2 separate regions of the Homo sapiens genome follow, and region 1 is linked to region 2. Evidence: promoter capture Hi-C in 16 types of primary human blood cells and fetal thymus (Javierre and others, 2016). All regions are on one chromosome and are shown on one strand. The core of a region is centred on a gene start or on the middle of the fragment in contact, and the rest is flanking DNA. Distances in the headings are between cores, read along the strand shown. Region 1 overlaps KCNQ1 (potassium voltage-gated channel subfamily Q member 1). Region 2 holds the start of KCNQ1OT1 (KCNQ1 opposite strand/antisense transcript 1).

Evidence for each region. Contacts are between HindIII fragments. The CHiCAGO score rates a contact against its expected background, and 5 or more counts as called.
Region 1: a fragment that was not itself captured here is called in contact with the fragment with the promoter of KCNQ1OT1 in region 2 in 1 of 17 cell types (M1 macrophages); the score reaches 5.4 in M1 macrophages.

The regions. Positions count from the first base shown.
Region 1 is chr11:2,595,197-2,599,906 of GRCh38, reverse strand. The region is part of intron 10 of KCNQ1 (potassium voltage-gated channel subfamily Q member 1); the gene reads right to left. Among named protein-coding and RNA genes, the nearest start is that of KCNQ1OT1, 100 kb to the left of the region's middle. The HindIII fragment of the contact is 572 bases long and covers 1,845-2,416 here.
Region 2 is chr11:2,697,039-2,701,545 of GRCh38, reverse strand. KCNQ1OT1 (KCNQ1 opposite strand/antisense transcript 1) reads left to right here and starts at 1,552. Exons shown (of 1, transcript NR_002728.4): 1 at 1,552-4,507. The region is part of intron 11 of KCNQ1 (potassium voltage-gated channel subfamily Q member 1); the gene reads right to left. RefSeq lists silencers at 1,069-1,138, 1,149-1,418 and an enhancer at 112-1,351. The HindIII fragment of the contact is 24,274 bases long and covers 1-4,507 here.

The sequences.
Region 1 (4,710 bases), core at 881-3,380, 100 kb after region 2:
GCCCTGGTCTTTAATACCTCGGCACGTGACTCAGCATGTTTGGAGACAGGACCTTTAAAGAGGTGATGAAGCTACAATGAGGCTGTTAGGGTGGGCCCTAATCCAGTGTGACTGGTGCCCTTAAAGAAAAGGATATTTGGACACACAGAGAAACACCAGGGTGCAAGTGCCCAGAGCAATGGTCATGTGATGACACAGGAAGAAGGCGGCCATCTGCAAGGCAAGGAAAGAGGCCTCAGGGAAAGCAGCCTTGCTGACACCTTGATCTCAGACTTCTATCCTCCAGAATTGTGAGAAATACATGTCTGCTGTCTAAGCCACCCAGCCTGTGGTATTTTGTTATGGCAGTCCTAGCAAACTAATACATCCTGGAAAGTTAACACATAGAAATAAAAGTTCTGTACATAGAAACAGGTTCAAGAACCTATGTTCTTGAACAAAATGAATTTTAAGCGATAGAGAACATCACAGAGTATGTACACCAAAGGAAATTAAGCAGAGATTATAAATTTTAGAATAGAATTGAAATAGAAATAAAATTCAATTAGAGATAGAATTAAATCAAAATAAAATTGTTTCAGCAGCCTTAGAGGCATTTTTACTATTTTACTGATTGAGAAAAACAAGATGCAGAAAGCAGGTATGATATGATCCCGTGAGTTTGGAAAACAATGATAATGCCTTCATTATGTCACATGTATTTTATTTCATTGAATATTATATGAACATCAGGAAAAATGTAAGACAACAAATCCTAGATTATCAACATAGGTAACAGAGAGGAGGGGAGCCCAAGCAAACATAAGAAAAAAGTTCTGTACTGAAACACATCTATTCCATTCTACTCATCTGTAAAGTTAAAGTGTGAATATTGGAAAGTAATACAACATTAAGGACACTAAAAGAAAGAATAGCCCCTATTCAGATCTGGTATTGATAGAGCCTGAGGCCAATTTGGCAGCAGACAGAGACACAAGACTGTTTGCTGCATATGGGTCCTGGGTGAGCACTTACATGTTCTAACTCACTCAGTCAACACAGGAGTCCTGGGAGCAGGCAGTTAGGATCCTGATTTCACAGATGTGGAAACTGAGGCACAGAGAATGCAGTAGCTTGCTTAGGGCCACATAAGAAAATGGCAGAGCTGGGCTATGACCCTAAAGAAGGTTGGCCATATAGGCTGTGCTCCAAACCACTCCATGAAACCTGCCACTCAATTTTTAGAAACATAATTGTACAGGAAGATTTAATTTTCCTGTCTCAGAATTTGGCAGATGTATTAGGGTTTTTTTTTTTTAACTAAGGGCAGAGCAGACCTAAATGAGGCAATGAATAAGTATGTATACACAATCCATCTCAATGTACATTTTGTCTGTCCATGTATACAAATAAAACTTTGTGTTATACAAATACAGAAGATATTTTCTGAGGTCTGTGGAGCATTTACAAAAATAATGATGTTATTTTCATACTTGGAGACAAAGAAAATCTTCATTTTAAAAAAAGTGGAGACTTCATAGGCTACATCCTTTCACTGTAAGCCTACTAAATTAGAAATAAATAACAGTGATAAAAATTTACTGCTTAAAAATTAAGAAGACATTAAAAGAACTCTAAAGAGAAAAATCAAAACACAAAATTAAAACTATCAAGAAAGCAATGAAAAGGAACATATTTCATAATCAGATCTACGTGTCACAGCTAAAGCTGCAATCAGAGGAAAATTTATAGCCTTTAAAAATGCCTTTAGTAGAAGAACTTCAAATAAATGAACTATGACTCTTAAGTAAAAGAAAACAAAAATAGAGTTAGCCAAGAAAAGGGAATTAATAGCTATAAAAGCTTAGATTAATGAAATAGATAACAAAGAGTACAAAGATAGTTTTCTGATAATAAAATATAAATAAAACATAAATTTCTCATGTGCTTGATTAAGAAAAAAGGAGAAAAACCACAAAAGTTCAGGCATAAAGGAAAAGAAAAACGAAGAGATGATAGAGAAGACCATAAAATCACTAAAGGAAAAAATCAGTTGCTACCAAGTGGCAACACAATTGAAATGCTTGAGGAAATTAAATAGCAATGAATAAATTACTCCAAAAGATGCAATAAACTAATTTAGAACAACATATCATAAAACAGACTAAAAAGAAATTACTAAAGATATCCTATAAAACATGTATCAGGCCCAGATGGTTTTACAACTCAATTCTATTTAACCTCTACAGAAAAGATAATCCCAATGTTCTTCAAACAGTTCCAAGACACAGAACAAGGAAGGTAGATAAAACTTTGTTTTGTAAACCATTGTATTTGCCCCCACATGATGGCAGATTTCATACTCTTCTGAAAGATGTACTGTTATTTCTAGGATCAGATATCAGGGATGTCCTGCATCAGTGATGAGAGTGAAGCTTCACAGTTTTGATGGCTGTTTAACGGAGATATGATACTTGAAGCAGACCTCCACTGATGGGTATGTCGGTGGTTTGCAATTTTTTGCTATTTAACAATTGCAGAAATCAATATCCTGATGATGGATTATTTTGCAAATGTGTAAGATATGTGTAGAATAAATTTCTAGAATGATTCAAAGGCATATGCATCTTTAATTTTGATTGAAATTGCCTTATTTATCTCCACAGAGGTTTGTATCAATTTATTTTTCTAACATCAATGACTGAGACTGAGAGTTTCCATGTACACATACCCATAGAGTGTTATCAAACTCTTTGATATTTAATAATCAGATAAGTTTCAAAAACCCCATTGCTTTAGTTTGCATTTCTCTTGTCATAATTGAAGTCATCCAGCATATTTTCATTCTTAAGAATTATTGGTATTTCCTTTTCTGTGAACTGTTTTAATATCCTTTAACTTCTATCTTGATTTACAAGAGCGTTTTTATATAGCAATTAAATTAGCCCCATGCCTATAGGTGAGTGGCAACTGGTTTCTTTAGGTTATCAATAAAAAATTATTTTCAGTATGTTTTTTTGCTATGCAAAATATATATTATATATTTACATTATATATTATAAACAGTTTTATTGAGATATAATTGACATAACTTGCTTATGTTTAAAGTGTGCAATTTGGTAACTTTTGACACATGATGAAACCATCGCCATGATTATGATAATGAACATATCCACTGCCCCAAAAGTTTTTTTGTGCCCTTTTGTCCTTTTCCCTCCTACTACTACCCCTGATCCCCAGGTAACCACTGATAACCACTGACTTGTTTGTCACTCTATATTAGTGGTCATTTTCTAGATTTTTACATAAATAAGATACCATGTACTCTTTTTTTTTTTGTCTGGCTTCTTTCACTCACCATAATTATGTTGCAATGTATCCATATTGTAGGCATATCAGTGGTTCATTCCTTTGTATTTCTAAGTAGTATTCCATTTTAGGAATATACTACAACTTTGAAAAAAATCTATTCAAATGTTGATGGGTATTTGGGTTGCTTCCAGTTTGGGGTTTCCAGTTTTTATAAAGCTGCTATGAATATTCCATGTACAAATGGTGGCATGCATATGATCTTATTTCTCCTGGATAAATACCTAGGAATAGAATCGCTGTAGAATATGGTAGGTATGTATTTAACACATCAAGAAACTGCTGAACTGTTTCCCAAATGGTTGCATCGCTTTGGACTTTGCATTCTCACCGGGAGCATATGAGAGTTCCACCTCCGACACATCTTTACCAACACTTGGTATCATCCATCTCCCTCATTTTATATAATATAATAATTGGGCCGTGGTATTTCATTGTGTTTTTTATTTGCATTTCTCTAATAACTAATGATATTTCAGCCACATCTTCAGGCTCCACTTCTAATTCTAGTTCTCTTGCAGTTTTCACAACATCAGTAGTTACTTCCTCCACTGAAATCTTCAACCCCTCAGTCATCCATGAGGGTTGGAATCAACTTTTTCCCAATTCCTGTTAATGCTGATATTTTGACGTTCTTCCATGAATCACTAATGTTCTTAATTTCATCTAGAATGGTGATTATTTTCTAAAATGTTTTCAATTTACTTTGCCCAGATTCATCAAAGCAATCGCTATCTATGGCCGCTATAGCCTTATAAAATGTATTTCTTAAATAATAAGACTTCAAAGTTGGCATTACTCCTTGATTATGGGCTGCAGAATGGATGTTGTGTTAGCAGCCATAAGAACAACACTAATCTTGTACATCTCCATCAGAGGTCTTGGATGACCAGGTGCACTGTCAATGAGCAGTAACATTTTGAGAGGGATCTTTTTGTCTGAGCAATAGGTCTCGAAAATGGGCTCAACATATTCAGTAAACCATGTTGTCAACAGATGTACTGTCATCGGGCTTTGTTGCTTCATTATAGAGCATAAGCAGAGTAGATTTAGCATAATTCTTAAGGGCCCTAGGATTGTTGAAATGGTACGTGAGTACTGGCTTCAACTTGAGCAAGGTTGCCACAAACCTTCAATTTGTAAAAAATGCATTATCAGCAAAGTGCAGTCAATAAGAATGAGACACGCCTGTATTTTAAAAATCTCAATTTCTGGTTATTTGCTGCAAGAATATATGAATGGAATTGATTTTTGCATATTAATCTTGTATCTGCCACCTTACTAAACTCATATATTAGTCATAGTGGTCATCTTGCATGTTCATCAGATTTTCTACATAGATAACCATGTCTTCTGCAAATA
Region 2 (4,507 bases), core at 303-2,802:
GAGTCTGGGGTGCACCTGAGCACTGGCTCTGAGTGATGGCACTGGTTGCACAGCTGCCTCTCGGACAGGCAGATGACAAAAACTTCCCAGCTAGATAGTGAGGGTGGACTGCGCCCTCTGATCAGACACATGAACTCCCTGGGCCAGTGCGAAGGGACAGGCGCCCAGGGGATGTGTCACTTGTGCCCAGATTGCCTGTGGGCTGAGCAGGAGGCAGGGAGTGGACTCATCTGGGCGTCGTTGCTGAAGGCCTGAAAGGAATCACTTGCTGCCTGAAAAAATGACACCATTTTCTCTTTCTCTTCTGGGCTGAAGAACAACAAAACCCCCAACCCGGTCACCCTTGGAGAGAGATTCCTGGCTCTCCCGTAGACGTATATTTTCGGCAGAGGCAGTGAAGATGAATGGCCTCCTTGCGTGCCTTGGTGGGGGGACGGCTGGCTCGCTTGGCTGGCTCCAGCCTCCCCCTTCCTCCTGTGTTTGAGGTCAACCCTGGGTTGGGGTTGTAACAACTTTCGAGAACATACCCAGAGTCCTGCATTCCAACACTGTTTTTGCAGTCCACATGGAAGGGCCAAACGGCCCCCAGCCTTGCCAGGGAAGCCTCAGGGTGTGAACTTCTAGAGGGGGCTTTTGTGACCCAGGCTTTTGTCCCCGGAGTTTATGGCAATGCTTGGCATTCAGAAGGCGCGCGCCAGCGGCGCGGAGGGGACGGACAAGGGGAGGGGCCGGCAGACGCGGTCAAGTGTCACGCCCGGATGGGGGATGGGAGGTGGGCAGGGCGGGCCCGGCCGGGCGCTGGCAGGCGCGGGGCGCCCTCGGCGCTGCCCTTTGCCAGGTGGGTGGCCTGGCATGTCCCGGCCACCCCTGCCACTCACCCCCTGAGGTCCCAAGTCCTCAGGGGTGAGCGGCAGACACGGGTGTTCCAGGCACAGCAGTGGGGGCTTCAGAACATCCCGATCCCCTGCATGGACCCGCTGGGAGGGGGGAAAACGCCTCCCGCACCCGGTGCCACGGCGGTGGAGACCTTGCCCGGGTTCGAGGGTCGCTGCAGCGGCGCCGGCGGAGGGGCTGGTCTCGGGCGTGGCCTGGACGCCCACAGGCCTCCACACCGAGGGCCCACAGCAGTGTCGGGGTGCGGCCGCTGTCCTCACGCGGTCACCCCGGGGTGGTGAACACATCACGCAGAGAACTGGCCCGTGTCTCCAGCTCACCCCGGCGATGCCAACGCTGAGGCTGGCGCTGGCCCCGGCCCCCGGTGGTGCTCAGGGACGACGGGTGGGGGCAGGGAGGGCGGCGGCTCGCGCCACCTCACACCCAGCCAGTGCCTCATGCGGCGCTGGACCCGCTGGGCCAATCTGAGCCCGGGTGGCATCAAAACGAGACTCTTTCGGCCAATGACAGGACACGGCACATCACTTTCCGCACCCAGCCAATCCGTGCAGCAGCCCGCCGCAAGCCTTCCCCTGCTGCCGCCCAATCAGCAGGTGGGGGGCGGTCGCCACGTCGGCAGCGGCGGGGGCAGTCGGAGCGCTGCCGCAGTCTCCAGGCAGAACGGTCGCCGCGTCGCCTCAGCACGGACCTCCAGGGAGCTCCTCAGCAAGATCCTGCCAGGGCGCCCCTCAGCGCGATTCTGCCGGGGTGCCTCTCAGCGTGGTCCTCCCCGGGGCTCCTCAGCACGATTCTCCCGGTGCGCCCCTCAGCGCGGTCCTCCTCGGTGCGTCAGTCATCGTGGTTCTCCCCGGCGCGCCCCTCGGCGCGGTTCTCCTCGGGGCTCCTCAGCGCGGCGCTCTTCTGGGGGCTCCTCGGCGCAGTTCTCCCCGGGGACTCCTCGGCGCCGTTCTCCTCGGGGCACCCGGGGCTTTTCGGCGCGGTTCTCCCCGGGGGTTCTTCGGCGCGGTTGTCCCCGGGGGTTCTTCGGCGCGGTTCTCTCCGGGGGCCTCTCGCCGCGGTTCTGTTCTCCCCGGGGGCTCCTCAGCATGGTTCTCCTCCGCGCGGTCCTCCCTGGGCCTCCTCAGCGCGGCACTCTCCTGGGGGCTCCTCAGCGCGGCACTCTCCCCGGGGGCTCCTCAGCGCGGCACTCTCCCGGCGGCTCCTCAGTGCGGTTCTCCCAGACTCTCCTCAGCGCGGCCCTCCCCATCTCTCTGGGAGGGTTTGAACACGGTCAGCACGGACCTGGGCGGACGGCGCGGGACGGGTGATCACTGGCGTTGCTGAGGTGAGCTGTGTGCCCCGCGGCCGTCCCAGATCACAGGCGTCAGCAGTGCAGCCTGGCCTGGGCAGTGCGCTCCCATCTGCACCTTATGGACAGCGTGGCCAGGGTCGAGGTCCGAGTTCCTGGCCGCGTCCCAAGGATCGGATTCCGGGTCTATAGTTCTCATGGTGGTTCAGAGTGGGCTGAATTGGGATTGGAGTCTGGAATCCGCATCGTGGTTCTGAGTCCGCGCTATTGGGATGGAAGTTGGGAATCCATGTTGTGGTTTTGAGTCAAAGCCCGAATTGGGACCGGAGTCGGAAATCCACTTAGTGGTTCTGAGTCAGGGCCCGAATTAGGATCGGAGGTGGGAATCCCCGTTGTGGTTCTGAGTTAGGTATCCTAGTTGGGATCAGAATTCGGGTCTAGGGTCCACATCCTGGCTGGGAGTTTGCCTGAGTTGGGATCTGAGTAGTTGGGGTCCCAGTCAGTCCGGGTCTGGAGTCCGCATGGTGGTTTTAGGTAGGGCCTCATTAGGGACAGAGGATCGGGAGTCTGAGTTGGGGACCTGAATCCCGGTCTGGAGTCTGCATCATGGCTCTGAGTTGAGATCCAAGGGAGGTCCGAGTTGGCGACTGGAGTCAGGGTCTGGAGTCTGTCTTTGGGTAGAGGTTCTGAATGGGGGGCTCTGAGTTAAGAGATTGGGATTGGGGTTAGAGGTCTCAGTGGGGTATGGGAGTCAGGAATTGAAGTCGAAGTTCTGCCTCTAGGTGGGGATTCTGAGTCAGGAATTAGGGGGCGAAGTAAAGGTTGCAGTCTGAGTTGGGGGTGGTGATCACCTGCCAGGTGAGAGGTAGTGGTAGAAGTCTCTTGGTCATATTGGAGATGAGAGTTGATCAGATGCAGGTCTCAGTCTGGGTAGTAGGCTTGAAGGGCCACCACTATGTTCAGATCCCAGTACCCCACTGTGGTCCCTGAGCAGGTCAAATAGCCTTTTATATAAAATTGAGAGTAAGAGTGCCTTCCCACAGCACTGTTCTGGTTATGAAAGAGAATAATTCATCCAGGTAGAATAGTTCTGTCTTAGATTATCACAAAGTATAAAAACTTTCCTGATAATATCCACATTTGATGTGCATTTACCAGTTCTTTCTTTACTGTGGTGCCCCTTTTGCTAGACCAAAAGCTCCCAACGAGGAACTCTGTTTTGTTTTCTGCTGCCTGCTCTGTACCCAGCCAAGAGCCTGATACACAGCCTTACTCAGTCAGTACTTGAAGGAAAGCAGGCAGGCAGGATTAACCAGATTTCTATGGTGTCTCAAATGATCCATTTCTGCACCTGTTTTCCAGATACTCAGTAGGAGAAAAATTTAAGGATTGAGTTGCTTGATTATGGGTGTATTTTAATGTGTTTCCTAACATGCTGAGGAGAAAAGTGGGTCTGTTTCAGGATTTATGCTCCAGCTAGAGGGATTTTTTAAAATTGCGAATCAGAGCATGTCCAAATTCAGATAGAAAGCACAAGAAAACTATAAAGAATTTCCCTTATGAATGTAGATGCAGAAGTTCCTTGTACAATGCTAGCTAACTGAATCCAATAATATGTATTAAACAACAATTCTTAAACAAGTGGGATTGCTCTTAGGAATGCAAAGATGATCCAATATCAGAAACTTTATCCATGTAATTCACATTAAGAGGCTACAGGAGAAAAACCATATGGTTCCCTCAATAGAGGCAGAAAAAAATGATGTGATAAAGTTTAACGCCTATGTGTGATTTTGGGGTAGTGGAGTACACCACTTAGCAAGCCAGGACTAGAGAGGAACTTCTTCAACTTGATACAAGTTATAAACCAAAACTTAACTTTTCAGTAAACTTGATAGAGAAATTAAAAGTGTATCATTCTCTTTAAGATAAGGAGTAGGCCAAGGATGTCATCCTGGCCATACCCTAATACAAGAAAAAGAAATGGGGATGTGAGGATCAGGTAGGAAGTGATAAAACTTAGTGTAGCTCATAGGGTTGATGGTCTCCATAAAGATTCTCAAACATTTTGGTGTTACGACTTGTTGTATTCTTAAAAGTTATTGAAACCCCCAAAGGGCTTTTCTTGATAGAGATTCTATCTGTTGATAGTTACCATCTTAGAAGTTAAAACTAAGAAATGTTTAAAGCAGAACTATACAAGCACATATTCCACTGGGGTCATGGTGTGCTGCCTCTGGAAAACTCTTTATCTTTGTGAGAATGAAAGAAAAGGCAAATAATGTCGAGTATTATTATGAAAATGTTTTTGACCTTTCCTGAAAG